2 separate regions of the Homo sapiens genome follow, and region 2 is linked to region 1. The links are contacts of gene promoters, found by promoter capture Hi-C in blood cells and fetal thymus (Javierre and others, 2016). All regions are on one chromosome and are shown on one strand. Each heading gives the region's core, a stretch centred on a gene start or on the middle of the fragment in contact. The rest is flanking DNA. Distances are from core to core; before and after follow the strand shown. Region 1 overlaps PTTG1 (PTTG1 regulator of sister chromatid separation, securin). Region 2 holds the start of RNF145 (ring finger protein 145).

What was found. The method cuts DNA at HindIII sites, captures the fragments that hold promoters and counts their contacts. A CHiCAGO score of 5 or more calls a contact.
Region 2: the fragment with the promoter of RNF145 here is called in contact with a fragment that was not itself captured in region 1 in 1 of 17 cell types (total CD8 T cells); the score reaches 6.1 in total CD8 T cells.

The regions. Positions count from the first base shown.
Region 1 is chr5:160,427,364-160,435,227 of GRCh38, forward strand. It overlaps PTTG1 (PTTG1 regulator of sister chromatid separation, securin), which reads left to right. Exons shown (of 6, transcript NM_004219.4): 5 at 352-510; 6 at 1,239-1,376. The coding sequence ends at 1,318. Among named protein-coding and RNA genes, the nearest start is that of PTTG1, 9.4 kb to the left of the region's middle. RefSeq lists enhancers at 5,067-5,156, 6,696-7,135. The HindIII fragment of the contact is 153 bases long and covers 2,922-3,074 here.
Region 2 is chr5:159,205,758-159,213,621 of GRCh38, forward strand. It overlaps RNF145 (ring finger protein 145), which reads right to left and starts at 3,796. Exons shown (of 11, transcript NM_001199383.2): 1 at 3,474-3,796. LOC107986468 (a long non-coding RNA gene) reads left to right here and starts at 2,270. Exons shown (of 2, transcript XR_001742943.2): 1 at 2,270-2,923; 2 at 4,102-4,395. RefSeq lists enhancers at 1,907-2,562, 2,162-2,211, 2,302-2,351, 2,462-2,581, 4,169-4,268 and silencers at 3,479-3,668, 3,709-3,998. The HindIII fragment of the contact is 10,196 bases long and covers 1-7,864 here.

The DNA of each region.
Region 1 (7,864 bases), core at 1,748-4,247:
ACATCTCAAGGATGGAGAGCTAATAAAATTAATACTTTCTACTGCATATGGTGAAGTGACAGTAAGTGAAACTGGCATTTTTAAACTACAAGCGAAGAAGGATGCAGAACAGAGAGACTGCTAATATGGTTTACTGTCACTGCCTTGATTTGTGTTGAGGCACCAGCAGCTTTCTCCACCGCTGCCTTGGTACCATCATTACAAATGTCAACCCAGTGGAAAAAGGTGTGAATATTGTCTTGAAAATAGTTTTGACCTCATGGACCCCCTCAAAGGGTCTCAGACCACAAGGGATCTACAGCCCACACTAAGAACTGCTGCCCTGACAAAAACGCTTTCTCTCTGTAACAGACTTTGAGAGTTTTGACCTGCCTGAAGAGCACCAGATTGCGCACCTCCCCTTGAGTGGAGTGCCTCTCATGATCCTTGACGAGGAGAGAGAGCTTGAAAAGCTGTTTCAGCTGGGCCCCCCTTCACCTGTGAAGATGCCCTCTCCACCATGGGAATCCAGTAAGTGAGCAAGTGCCCTTCTGGAAGGGCTGCAAACAATTTGTTTCATAACACTTCCATTACCATGGGAAGAGTTGTGCGGGAGGTGAGCCTGTGAGTAATTTCTGTCCTTCAAATGACAAGGATTAGTTTTCAGAAAAATAAACTATTCTCGATTAATATTGCTTTTCAGTCCCAAATGCCCCAGTAAAATTGTTATTCTGGAAACTGGATAGTCTTACTACAGCCAAAAGATTAATTCTCACTTACATCTTCTTAGGCTATAAGTTGAAGCATATATAATAAACTTGCTTGGAATGATGATTCCATGTTATATCCAAAGCTAATATAAGATCAAAACACCTGTGCTGTAGCATAGACTGACAATAACTTCTTACTGCAGAAGGTCTGAGGTCTTCGTTTGAACTGGTAGTCAAAGCCAACATTATGTTTTCTGTTTGTTCTGATGTGGGATAATTTGTCCTAATAAGTTACATTAGTGAGACTGTTAACTCTTACTTTGGTCTCTAAGAACAATAGAGATTCAGATACTTCTAAAACTTACTTCCTAATGAAAGTCAATTCTGGGGCCACAGACACATTCCAAAAAATGTGTCAGGAGGGGATGCAGGTGATTGATTTGACAAAGGGAAAAACATGAATTTTTGATTGACAGCTAATGTCTATGTTGATATGGACAATGACTCAAGGATTTGCAGAAATTTTAATAAGAGATTCCTGTTTTCTAGATCTGTTGCAGTCTCCTTCAAGCATTCTGTCGACCCTGGATGTTGAATTGCCACCTGTTTGCTGTGACATAGATATTTAAATTTCTTAGTGCTTCAGAGTTTGTGTGTATTTGTATTAATAAAGCATTCTTTAACAGATTCTTCCTAGTATTGTGGTTGCTTTTCCATGGAGGTTACTTAAAATAACATGAAAGCTAGCTGAGGTGTTTAACAAAGAGTCTATAATGTGACAATAGAGATTTGTCTGATGTCTAAAAACTTAAATCTTTTTGGTTTAACAGCTTATTTTAGAAGCTGCCACTGTTTTTTCCTGAAAAGTATACCCCTCAATGTGTACTTTATTGACTTTTTGTGGCCATTAACTAGTGACAGTTATTAGATCTCTTAATTAGAAGAGCTACTTCCAACTCATTAAGTATCTATTGCTGGGCATTCTTTATTGCCGGTTCTACTTAGTTTCTAATGACTTTAATACTCAGTATTGAAAGGCTCTAAATCTGAGAATTCAGCCTCCTTGGGATCTTCAATTAGATTCCTTAAAGATCACTGGAGATAATTTACTGATAGTAAGGTCTACACTCCACCTATAGGAAACTGTATTTAGTTGTTTACCTTGTGTTGGACATGAGTATTTGAGAAGCATTATTATGTTTAATGTTTGACACTTTCCCAGGTAAGACAATGAAGCGCAGAAGTTCATTGATTTGTCAAAGATGTGAAGAGCTAGAAAATTATTAGAGCTGGTATTTTGATCTCAGTTCTGAGGTTGGAATCAAAATAGAGATGGCAAATGGTTGCTCATAGGTTTTCTTTTTGAGGGAGGGGGTGGATATTTTAAAAACCTTAATCATTTCCACTATTTAAAATTCCAGTGTTTCACCAATCTGGCTTTGGAGATTCTCTTGAAAAGAGATGTGTCCATAGTAGACCCTGTTTCCAACACTTGCTGGGGCTGGAGGTAGATTGCAGGCTGCTGCCTTTTAGGTGGAGTATAGGCTTTCTATCCCACAGACCCTGCCTTAAATGGCCTCAGTGAGAACTGAAGTGATCCTTTTACCTTTCATGTCTCTTCTGAGACCTAGCCTACTTAACTCACTTTACTCGCTTGGGCCATGTAGTAACCTGAATTTGACCCTTGCTTGATGCTAAGTTATATAAGAAGTCTTTCCCTTGATATATCAGTAGCTTCTATGGTCAAGTTAGAATGTGAACACTTTGCCATTGTCATTGGAGGAAGCTGAAGGATATTAGGCATGAAATACTAAGAACACCTACAACCGCTTATCCTGACTTTAAAACTTTTTACCTTCTAAATACAACTGAATCAGTGTGACTTTCTGGAATTAGTGGAAAGGCAGACTTCTAGGAGAAGATAATACCATAAGACTACTAGGGCACTTGGCTTTAGGGGAGAGTAATAGGTTTAGCATCCTCAGGTAAAATAGGGCTGCTAAGAAAACCAAAGTATAGGTTGGACACAGTGGCTCACACCAGTAATCCCAGCACTTGAGAGTTTGAGGTGGGAGGACTGCTTGATCCCAGGAGCTTGGGTTCAACCTGGGCCATGTAGTGAGACCCTTGTCTCTCAAAAATTAAAAATAATTAGCCGGGTGTGGTGGCGCATGCCTGTAGTCCTAGTTTCAGGAGGTTGAGGCAGGAGGATTGCTTGAGCCCAGGAGTTCAAGCTTACAACTTGAGTGGCTATAGTCATGCCACTGGGTGGTAAAGTGGGTGGTAGAGTAGCCTGGGTGGTAGAGTGAGATGCTGTCTCACAAAAACAACAAAAAAAGCAAAGTGTAGTTCTGAATGGCTTTCATACTCTGCAACACAAACTGAAGCTTTGGAAAATTGTCTTTTGTGGTAGAGGGAACCAAGGGCTGGGAGCAAGGGGACTAGTCAGTCCCTTACCAGTTAATTGCCGTCCTCTGGGTCAGAACTGAGTATAGAGGGATCTGATCTTTTCATCTGCTGTTAATCAGATTGCAATGTGCATAATGTGTGCTGAGACTGAGAACTTTAAGCAGATGCTCCTCCATTAATACAGATAATTTGCATCTTGTGGGGGTTGTTGCTATTTTGTTCTGACACTTTTTGAAATAAGACAGACTTTATTCATACCTTTACAACTCTGTAAACCTTCTGCATTTCTCTACACTACCTCTGAGCCTGCCTCTCAGGATACTGTACCTTCTTATAGTAGGAGCTAACAGTCAGGAATGCCATTATCTTGCTACCATTTCTTCTTTCTTATTACAAGTTGTATTTTTCTACTTTCCATGCCAGCCATGGATTTTACCTTTTTTCATGCTGGGTATTTTTACATTTCTATTAATATTCTTAAACTTTGTTCTAGAGTATGGGTAAGGTACCTAGAAGCAATTTGATTCATTTGAGACTTGCCTTTAATGTTAGGCATCACCAGAGCAGCATTTAGCCCAGGGCTCATTTCCCCCTACTACTGAAGTGTGAGATGCTTAGGACTCTGCTGCCCCCTGAATTATGAGGTTTTCCTGTCTAGCTGGTGGGAGCAGACACTATTCCCAGCCCTGTGTGGGCTTCAGGAATTCTTCCCTCTGATCTTTTCAGCTATATGGATCAGTGCTCTTCTGAATACTACAGGGAGACCCTCTGCAAATTTCCAGGGTTCTCTCTGTGCAGCTCTCTCCTCTCCAGTGCTCTGCTCTGCAAACTTGGCCTGCCTTGGCCTGACTCTGCTCTGTCTCTTCAACTCAGGAAATTCACTGGGCTCTGCCTGCCTCCCTTTCTTCCCCACTCTGAGGCCTGGAAACTCAAAAGTAGCCAGTAAGGATAGTCATCGGCCTCACCTCACTTATTTCACATTCCTCAGGCATCGCTGTTCTCTGTCGCCTGATGTTCACTCTTTGGGCAGCCCTCATTTCATATATTTTGTCTTGTTTTTTAGTTTCAGGCAGGAGAGTAAATCTGGTCCCTGTTACTCCATCTTGATTGGAATTGAAAGTTCCTTCTAGATATTCCTTTCATTTTTTTTCTTTTTTGAGACGGAGTCTTGCTCTGTCGCCCAGGCTGGAGTGCAGTGGTGCAATCTTGGCTCACTGCAAACTCCACCTCCCGGGTTCATGCCATTCTCCTGCCTCAGCCTCCCGAGTAGCTGGGACTACAGGCGCCCACCACCACGCCCAGCTAATTTTTTTTTTTTTTGTATTTTTAGTAGAGACAGGGTTTCACCGTGTTCGCCAGGATGGTCTCGATCTCCTGACCTCGTGATCTGCCGGCCTTGGCCTCCCAAAGTGCTTGGATTACAGGCGTGAGCCACCATGCCCGGCCTTTTTTTTTTTTTTGAGGTAACATTCACATAAGAAAATTCATTTAAAAATGTACAATTCAGTGGCTTTTAGTTCAGAGTATATGCAACTATCACCACTGTCTAATTTCAGAACACTTTCATCACCCCCAAAAATAAACCCATGCTCATCAAGCACTCATTCCCCACTTCATTTACTTTGGAATGATGTCCCTCTGCCACCAGGATGAAGTCTGAGTTGCTCAGTGTGGCTCACACGGCCTTGTGGTGGCTCCTTGGGGGTGTAATTTCCTGTCCTGATTCACCTGGCCAAACCTGTCCATCTCTAGTACTCCAATGAGATGCTTTTCTTACCAGAAGCCTTTGCACTTACCATGCTCGGCTGTGTCTGGTCCTCTCCTCCGCTCTACTGGGAGCAGGATGAGGTGTGTCCTGTGCACTGGTGTATTCTCTGCCTGGCATGTGGCAGGTGCTTCAGGGACTTGCTGAAATGAGTAAAGATGTCATCAGTCCCTGGGGATCCAGGTTTCTAGAGACCCAGCGACTGCACTGTACCCACTGTTAGCATCACACGGTATCAGGGCCAGGGAGCCTGACTTCAAGGTTTCCAGAGAGAGAGTGGTGGGGGCAGGCACAGGTCTAGGAGGTCAGCTTCTCCTACCCTAGACAGTTCCTGGTCACCTGTCTGTCTGTGCCCCACCAAGCCCAGGTATAACCTGTTTACTGAGAAGCTCCAGCTCTGCTGGGGAAACATAAACTGAGTTTCTTTCTTTTTTTATTGCCACCAACTGTGTTTTGTTGACCTGTTCTCCTTTCCTCCTTTCTGGGTGGTGGGTGATGCTGAGCAGCATTCAGACAGATTTCATAGCTTTCCAGTTACTTTTGGTTAAAATTAAACTTTGCTTATTTTAAAACTTGAGGTTCACACCTATTTCAGGCTCTTCTCCCTCTCCCCTAGTACAGGCGAGGGCTTGGCAAAAGCCCATGTGTATGCTCTGCTCACCACACATGTCCCTTCTCCCCTTCCGGTGTTATGACCCTCATAGGGGCTTAGTCCAGCCCCAAGCCTGGGAGGACGGCTGGAGGGAGAAAAGAGTCTGCTCGTGTGACAGGCCACTTGTTGGTTATGGGAAGTGTGCTGGCTTCGTTCTGGCTGTTGTGCTCTGCACGATGCTGGTGGCCTCTGCTCATGGGGAGGTCCTTGTGTAGAGAATCACCCTCTTCTCCACGGCTGAAAACCCTGTCCCTCCTGAGAATGGCAGCCTGCCTCTCTTCCCACACCTTTCCCAGGTGGGCCCTTCTATTCCTTGGTCCAGGGGCTGTCCAAGGCCTCTGCCCTTCCATGATTAACCACTGGGATCTTTTCCATCCCCTTTGAGGGCTGCAGAACCAGGATGGGGTGAAGGTTTCCCTGCAGGCCTGGGTACTCCAGCAGGTCCCCACCGTGAGAAATCTCTGGACCAGGAGCAGGTGCCAATCTTTAAGTTGCAGTGAGTCTCTACATGCCGATGATCCTCTCCTCCCCGCAGTGCAGTGAGAAGGCTGAAAAGGACAATAAATACTCCCAGAATGCTCTCTCAAGAGCCCTCTCTCTCACCAGTCTTGGTTCTGTTGGTGGCACCAGCATAGGCTTACCTATTTCTCCTGCAACTCAGCTGGTGTGTGTCTGGGGGTGAGAGGCCATTCTCCCCTTCCTGAAGATTCCTATCTTTATGTGTTCATTTAAAGCTTTTCATGACTGCAGGTAGGAGAGGAACACCTCTCCCACCACGGACACAGCTTTTCTCTGCAGACATCCCCAAAGCGGGCCACCTCATCTATCAGGCCTCTTTCTGCTCCTGATGGTTGATGCTCCTAGGACTGGCATCTCTTGGCAAGCCCAGAGCTAACTTTAGAATATGCTACACTCAGTGGCTTTTGGGGACTTTAGCTGCATGTTTTCAAGCAACAGGAACAATCAAACAGCAGATCTGTCTCTCCTTTCCAGCCAGAGTGAACTTGGACATGGGTCTTGTTTATCCTTGCAGTCTCCAAGTCCAGTGTCTTGCCTGGAGTAGACGAATGATCAGTTTGTGGAACTGAATCACGGCAGGAAGAATGAGTGCAAAGAGGCTCCCTTTGGCTCTGTGTGCACAGGCTCCTGGGAGGATTTGTGCCTACACTCCCTTCTGAAGAGGCCTCTTTTTCCTACAAGAGGAGCCTGGGACTGATGAGCCATTTCTCTTTTCAGATCACATAGTGGAACAGACCGCAGGCCCCACCTTCCTCCGCTGCCCGAGGAGTGGGAGTGGGTTTCCATGGCAATGGCACGCACCAGCGCTCACCTCCGCTTTGCAGCCCTGCTGCAGAGGTGAGAGCTGCCTGCCTTTGGTATGCTGCTCAGAGCCCAAGCCAGGCTGGCTCCTGGCTTCCTGCAGTCTTGCAGGGAGGGACACCAGAAAGGACAGCAGTGTAGGGACGCTAGCCCAGAGGTATAAGTCAGGGGCAGGTCACATGACTAAGAAGCATCTTCATCTTACTGGAAAGATGAAAAGTTAGTTGAGTATGATGTTCTGTATTACTAGTTGGAAAACTGGGCATGTGACTAGAGCCGTACAACACATCGTATTTCAGTCTTGTAGTTGGAGGCAGAGAGGGTGGTATGTGAGATGCCACAGGGGAGAGAGGGAAAGGCAGGCATGGACTCATACCTTGAAAAAGAGACAGAGAAAGAAGGGGGACCTAAGAAAGCAGCAGACACAAAACTACATGGTGCTTGGTGCCTACCGGGTACTCAGACACAGGGCTGTTGAGTTTTATGGGAGGGTTGTGTTCCTGAAGACCTTGTATAATTACCATAAATTAATGTAATTTAAGACTAATCCTGACATGGATGTTATATTTGTGTGCTAGGGCTGCCATAACAGAATACCATAGACTGAGGGAGCTGAAACAATGGACATTTATTTTCTTACGATTCTGGAGGCTGGAAGTCCATGGCCGAGGTGTGGCAGGGTTGGTTCCTTCTGAGGGCTCTCTTTTTCTATTGTAGTCATGTCCCTGGCTTCTCACTGTGTCCTCTCACGGTCTTTGCTCTGTGTTGCCTGTGTCCTAATCTCCCCTTCTCCTAAGGGCATCAGTTAGATTGGATTAGGGCCCACCCAGATGACCCTGTTTTAACTTGATTAACTCTTTACTGGCCCCATCTCCAAATACAGTCATATTCTGAGGTGCTGGGGGTGAGGACTTCAGCATATGAATTTTGAGGTGGTGGGGAGGGACACAATTTATAACAAGTATCAAGTGTTTCTGTTACAGAAGCAAAGTTATATGGCAAAAGTATAAACATTAATTTAAAACCCAA
Region 2 (7,864 bases), core at 2,546-5,045, 1.2 Mb before region 1:
ATAAGTAACAAGAGAGGGAGGAGCTATTACTGATTTAACACTTGTAGCCCATATTTATTTCATTTGATTTGGAACCTTTCTCTTTTTTCAATGCTTTGCTATTTTAAAATGTGCCCATTTTCACCATTTACTGTGGCTCCTAAACGGGTAAAGAAGAAAATTTAAACTAAACAAATAACTAATCCTGCTTTAGAAATCAAGATCTGCTAGGGAAGAAAAACTCCCTAATCCGTACAGAGGATCATCTCTATTACAAAAGTCCATTAGCAGAATGGTACATGTTCCCTCTTTATTTCCACCCACCACTCCTGCCTAACAAATATAATAAGAAACAGAAAACAGGACACATTTCTATTTCTATAAAGAGAAAATACCGGGTCCCGAAAGCTGTCAATAAAAAACAATATCCAAGATCCCCCTCTACTACATAGTCAACTCGAGACTGAAATGTTTTTAACAAGGACTTTGGATAGAATTAAATACGCCCAAATAAACGAAACTAAATGTTGCATTTATTTCTATACGTGAATGTTATTTTAGCAAGTCAGTGGCAAGCTGGTCATGTATAAAGGCACTGACGAAACAAATTTAATACATGGAAAATCAAAGAGAAAAAAATTTCAAAACCTTATCACTTTGAACCCTTCTAAAGTAAAAGAGCACATGATAGTTATCAATACAAATAGGTACTTTACACTACACTTTAGCACCACACACTAAACCAACATCAAAACAAAACTTTAAAATATTCATCTTCTTTGCAAGTACTTGCAATTACTCACACCTGCCAAATCACTATATCATACAAACACGAAGTAAAATGGAGCCTTCTCTCCTGATCTAGAGAATACCTTTATAATGTTGCCTAATTTATCCTGTTCCAGATTTATTGTCAAACAGGGCTAATCAGCATATCCTAAAGTACAGGGGAGCTCAATATTCTCTTGAAAACAAAATAATACCAAATAATCCTAGAAAATAAGCAGGAGAGCTGAAAGCAGAAAAAACCGAAAGGTTTAACACACCCAAAGCCAAATACATAAACTTCCTATACTGTTTTATCTTCCATGCAAGATTTTAAAATGTCCTCCTTGAACTTTGAAAAGAACTGGGAAAGTAATATCCAACATGATGTGTCTGCAGGTAACATAAACTAAATGTGACTCAAAGATGTTTTACACAGTAAAACAGCTAAAAACAAACCAAAAAAAAAAAAGGCATTTCTTTCCAAAAACCACAAGAGGTGCAACAAATGCTAACCAAAAAGGAGACCTCAATGAGTTCATTAAATGACCTTCTCAGGCTTAGAAGCAGCAATCCGTAATTATGAAAACAGTAATGTCTTGTAGAAGTATAATGCTGTACAGTTTACCATTCAAATTTGTGGGTTAGAAAACACAGGGGGCTTCATTCTACACTTTCCTGAAAATACGGGATTTTAGTTTTGAATATGAAGAAACCAAACAAATCGTCCTGAATAAGAAAAATGTAGGTTTTTACAGTCACAGCTAATCTCTGAAGAACTATGTCAAATAAGAGAAATGAAAAATGTGATTTTTTATTTCTCTTATTTGAGTTCTTCAAAAATACACCTCCTAAACTTTTTTTTAAAAAGACAAAGAAAAAACAAGAATGACACGTGACCCAACTTAAAACTATTCAGTACAATACTTCTACACCTTCCCCCTAAAAAAGAAAAACAAAAATCATCATTCACCATTATCTCCTTTCTTTCTCCCAACCAGTTAAAAAAAAAAATTCTACCATCAACTAAAACTGATCTTAAGAAAAGTAAATTTTCGGGCTGTCCATCGGTTAGGATGGTAGGCCTCACTGAAAATGTTAAGAGCACAAAGCTAGAGCCTAAAATTCTAAGTAAAAGCCCAGAACTGAGATACCAGGAAAGAGAACGCATTTCTTACATAAGCAATGGCACATGTTTTAAATATAGCTGGTCCTCCCCACTCCCACTCCTTGCTAGCTAACTTTGTATGTACCTGATCTCCACATAAACTACTAGCAATTCTGTGGTTTCTCATCATCTCCCAAACCGCAAAGACAGGGAGTCTACTCTGAATACAAAGGCCATCTTTCAACTTAAGGAACAGAGAGAGGAAATAAAACTGCTACCTCTGCCATCGGCCGCTCAGCCTGGGTCACGACTGCAGCACCGACAGCTCATTCTTTTGGGCATGATTCAAGATTCAGTAAAACTGCACACTCCGTATTTTAAAAAATAAAAAGACACACAGTCCTCTCCTTCCCTTTCAGACTAGTTTCCTCTTTACTGCAGACTGCGACGCAAGGCCATCCACTAATCTTTGATGCCTGCTCACTGCACAGGCCCCTTCCTCTCTCCCCGCACCTCCTCCCACAACGCCTGCAGATCTCAGATGCGTTTGAACTACAGTAACCCCAACCCAGCTCGCGGCAAGCAGGCAGCGCAGCAGCAGTAGCAGCAGCAACCGGGCCGCCGCCGCCGCGGGGCTAAGAGATTACGTTCAGCAAAAACTCTTCCAGGAAAGAGGCTCGAGAGCTCCCCTCCTATCTCGCCAAGGGTGCTGACTCTGTCGCGCCACGCCACGTACCAAAAGGCTCGCGAAGAAAAACGCGGGCGAAGTTCAGCATCCCCGAACAGAAAGGGAACTCATTCCAGAAAGGGGGTTCACGGGTCTGAGGGTCCTTGGGTGGGGAAAGCAGTATTGGAGGGAGAAGACAGAAGGGATGGCAAGACAGAGGAAACCACGGGGACAAAAAGGAAGGGATGAGGAGCCCTCTTACTATAAAAGGGACTGACGGACGGGATGCAGAGCAATGGGCCCCCCTCGAAAAATGGACTGGCAGGCCCTTCCGCACCCCCAAACAACCTCGCACCACCTGAAAGCGGGGAGCTTGAGTTTGGGGCTGCGTAGATCAAAGCAGGGTAAGACGAAGGGAAAGAGGGAGGGGAGCTTGGAAGCAAAGTGAACAAAGAGGCAAAAGAGGCAAAGTTGGAAATGGAAACGAGAAAGGGAGCTGGAAAGGGGCCGCTCTGGAAGGGTCTTGAAAAAGGCCTAGAAATGGGATGCTGGGGAGGCAAAGGGGGACAGCCCCGAGGAAGGGCATCTCAGGAATGTAAGGGAGCGCTCCAGGCCCTGGGAAGAGGAAGGGATGGGAGGGCGGGGAGGCAGCCGAGGCCCGGGAGCTGGAACAGAGGGGGCTTTGCGCGGGGCCCAGGAGGGGAGAGCAGGGTCGGAGGGAGGCGACCACCGCGGGAAGAGCTAGAGGATGGGAGGGAGGGGTGCTGCGGCTGAAGAGGGGATGTGGACTCCTCCAATGCTAGGGAGAAGAGGGAGGTGAAGCGAGATAAAAGGAAAGGGGCGAACAGGGAGAAGAGGAAGGAGCCTGCGACGCGATGGGGGAGGGGAGGGAGGCCGTGGGAAGCGGCCGGGGGGCGCGGGGATGGGAAGGGGCCGGGCGGGCGGCGTGGTCACCTCAGGCTGCGGACTCCCTCCCTGGGGAGCGGCGCTGCCGGCGGGCGGGCTCCGCAACTCCCCGGCTCTCTCGCCCGCCCTCCCGTTCTCCTCGGGCGGCGGCGGGGGCCGGTACGGCACGGCTCACAGCGGCGGCTCTTCTGCGCCGAGCCTCGGATGTTGCTTCTGGGGAGGCGGAGGCAGCGGCAGCGGCAGCGGCCCGGCCCGTACGGTCACCATCGTCCGCGGCAGCAGGCGCTCGCGGGCCGAGCCCCTTAGCAGCCGGCGCCGGCGTCGGCGGCCATGGCCTCCTGCGTTTGCTCCTCCCGCCCCCGGCGCTCTGCGGCGGCCGCGGCCCGACTTCCGCACTCTGCGCCTGCGCGCGGCCCAGCCAGCGCGGCGCGCCCCTCCCGCGCGCGCCCGCGCTCACTCACAATCGCGCCCGCGGAGTGCTTTCCGCACCGCCTCCGGTGCGTGGGCGGGAGACATAAGCCTAGCCAAGCCCATACAGCCCGGCTCGGGTGGCTATGGAGAGGCGTACTGCAGAGACACCTGGACGCGCACTGTGACAGGCGCCATTCTGACACACGTGCTCTCTCACTCCCAAACACCACGGGCCGCAAGCGCTCACACCCACACTCACCTGCAGGGACCACGTGGGAGAATTTGAAGGGCTGATCCTGTCCCGGTGCATTCGCAGTAGCAATGATGCGAGAATTCGTTTTAACCTCGTCACTGACTGGACTAGACTGTAAACTCCTTGGCGTCTGGGATGGCTCAGCCGTGCCCAGCACCAAGTGCAGGCACTCAAACCCCTGTGGAGTAAGTGACTGGATGAATGAATGCATTGGAACTGTTCACTGAGTATCTGTAACAATTTTGATCCCATGGTTTGGTACAAAGAATTTTATTGCAGTATGAAATTAAATGGTGTTTGTGTGTTTGTCTTGTCTTGGTCTAAGGTTCAAAACAGGCTAATGTATGTTTTCCCCTCCCCAACGTAGAGGAGTTCCACTTTGTCTCTGTGCCAGTCTCTATCACAGAATGCGCAATCCTACCCTAATTTAAATGTCCACACCTTTTAGGGCAGGAACTGTTGCCCAGAATACATAGCCTGAAGCATATTGTGTGTTTACACAACGATAGTCTTCTGGGCTTGGCAAGACTTCTCATTCCCCATTTGTCTGCCACTCTGCCTCACCACGACCTTCTGCAACCCCCACTTCTATCTCCCCTGCCTTCCACCATCACCAAAACCCCTCCACTGTTTCTTGCTTTCTCTTTCGTTAGTTCCTGGGGAGCCAGTTGCTATGAGCACCTAGCCTGGCCTTAGATGTTGAAAGGGCCAGTGTACACAGAAGATACACACCCAGTGATGGGTAAGATGTTGCAACTATACTGGGTCATGCTGAAATTGTGAAGCCTCAACTTCTTCATGTGCAAGAGAAATTAATGTACTGTAATCTCGATGTCTGTGTTGAGGACCCTCCTTGTAAATTCAAGTCTCTGGCCTCTGCCCTTTGAATGGTAAACCCCCAATTCTGAACACTCTTGTATCCTGCTGAAATTGTGAAAGCAAGCTCTGTATTTAGAAAATGCAATCCCTGGAGGTATCAGTCAACCAAACTCTGAGTAACTTGCCTTCCATTAGTTTGATAGCTCTGTAGGAATCAAGTGTTTAAAATGTGTGGGAATTGTGTACATAACTCACTATAACCACCTTTCATCCAGGTGCCTCAGACTACTTCACCATAGTCATAAATCCTGTCACATCCCAGTGATGCAGTTCATGAGTCTCTTAATCTAGCCTGGTAAGTAAAAAAATTACAGAGGTCACATGAATAATGACTGGAATAGGAAATGGACCAAGATAGCAAGGCCTTATCTTGATCCCCTCCCTGTTTTAACAACTTTACATCTGACTGAGTCAAGAAAACCTAAGGCCAGAAACAGATTACAAAGAAGTCAAAATGAACGTAACACTAAATTCTAACTTTATTTATTTATTATTCTTGGATAAATGGCAGAATCCTGAAAATGTGATTCTAAAAGGAAGTATGGTTGCTGGATTTGCGTGGTTTTTGTTTGTTTGTTTGTTTGTTTTTTGAGACGGAGTCCACTCTTGTTGCCCAGGCTGGAGTGCAGTGGCGTGATCTTGGCTCATCGCAACCTCCGCCTCCTGGGTTCGAGCAATTCTCCTGCCTCAGCCTCCCAAGTAGCTGGGATTACAGGCATGCACCACCACACCTGGCTAATTTTGTATTTTTAGTAGAGATGGGGTTTCTTCATGTTGGTCAGGCTGGTCTCTAACTGGATTTGTGTTTTAAATGGAGGAGAGGCCTACTTCAGCTCTTACCTTTCCTTTTTTTAAAGTGGAGAAAATGGCTTCAAAGCCCTGTAACCCTCACTGGAAGTATTCTGGACTTGTAAAAGCAGGAAAAAGTCACATGTCTTTTTACCTTTTAACTTAATAGCAGCTGCCTGTAAATGCTGAAGTTCAAAACAAGTAAAGAAAATTACTCTGGTAATGAAAGGGTTACTGCTATTATAGTGCTGCTAATCCAGTTATGGGAAAGCTCCACATTGCCAGAAGCAGGTAATTAAACAGAACTAAAAAGCAACGCAAAAGAAAAAAGAAGTGGGGGTGGGGCGGGTGAATCGAGAGCAGCTCAAATAAAAGAGCTCAATCAAGTGTAGAGGAAGTACTTTCTAGAGGCACCCAAACCCACCCAAATCAGGAAAAGCCAGGAGCTAAATTTGTCCTTAAGTACCTGGAAGAAACATAAGGAAATGTCTAAATGCCACAGCTTGGTCATAAAAGGAACTTACCCAGGGTGCTAGAAGGAAAGAAGTGGTATGTTTATGACTGCCCAATGGCAGACCATTCAGGATTCGAAAGGTTATCTTCCTTCCTGTCTAAATGCATCCAACATTGAGGAGGAAGTCAGCACAAAGTTTGAAAGAGTGCATATATGTTCCAGTTCTAGCCATTCCAAAAGACTCGTTCCTGAATTCCTGATAGAGCCAACTATTGCTAATAGTCACATAGAAATAGTCTTGTGTTGCAAATCCGCAGGAACTGATGGCCACTTTATTATGCACTGCCTTCTAAATCTAGAGAAAATGATATAACGGATTTCACATGTTGGGGCCAAAATCCAAAGAACCTTGGATAGCCAGCATTGGGAATATGAGGGAGAATTTTCATGTCTTCATTTCTTCACACACTTTCTTGTTCCTAATGTTTTCTGGGCACTTTGAGGTTTTCTTTATCCAATTCAAACAACCAGATATTCAAAGATATCCAATTCAATAATCAACTCCCTAATTAGAAGAGTCTAGATAATATATAGAATCCATTCAACCTGGCTACCCTCATGGTTTGATTTTGAGAGCCAACTCTATAAGGAAAACTATAGTTTTGTTAGGCAACATTATTCGGTAAAGGGCGGTTCACTCTTTTTTTCATATATATATATATATATATATATATATATATACAGCTTAATTGACATATAATCCACCTGTTTTAAAGTGTACAACTCAGTGGTTTTTAGTATATCCTCAGAGTTGTGTAACCATCACCACAATCAATTTCAGAACATTTCATCATAACCTCCCGCCGGGGAAAAAAAAACCCATATCCATTAGCAGTTGCTTACCTTCTCGTCCCAGCCCTCAGCAATCATTAATTGTTCTGCAGTCACTAATCTTTCTGTCAGATTTGCATGTTCTGGACTTGTCATATAAAGAGAATCATACAATATGTAGCATTTTGTGTCTGGCTTACTTTACTTAACATTTTTGAGGTCCATGCATGTGTAGCATGTATTGGTACTTAATTTTCTTTTCTTGCCAGATAAAATTCCATTGTGTAGATAGATATACCGTGTTTTGCTTATTCATTCATCAGTTGATGGACACTTGAGTTATTTCCACTTTTTGGCATTTATGAATAGTGCTGTTATGAACATTCATGTACAAGTTGTTGTGTGGACACATTTTCATTTGTCTTGGTAGAATTACTGGGTCATATAGTAACTCTATGGTTTCACTTTTTGAGGAACTGCCAGATAGTCTTCCAAAGTGGCTGCATCATTTTACATTCCCACCAGCAGTATATGAGAGATTTACTCTTCTATTCAGATGCTTCCTATCTGCTAGCTATGGGACCCTGTGCCAAGTGTACGTAACTTAAGAACACCTCCATTTATTGTCTGTAAAATAGGGATAGTGATAATATCTACTTTGCGGGGTTGTTGTGAAAAATAAATGAAGTGATGTGTGCTAATATTCTTGGTACAAAGTCCTCAATAGTTCCCCCTCCTTCTTTTTTTTTTTTTTTCCTCGAGACAGGGTCAAGCAGTCCTCCCACCTCAGCCTCCTGAGCAGCTAGGACTACAGGCATACGC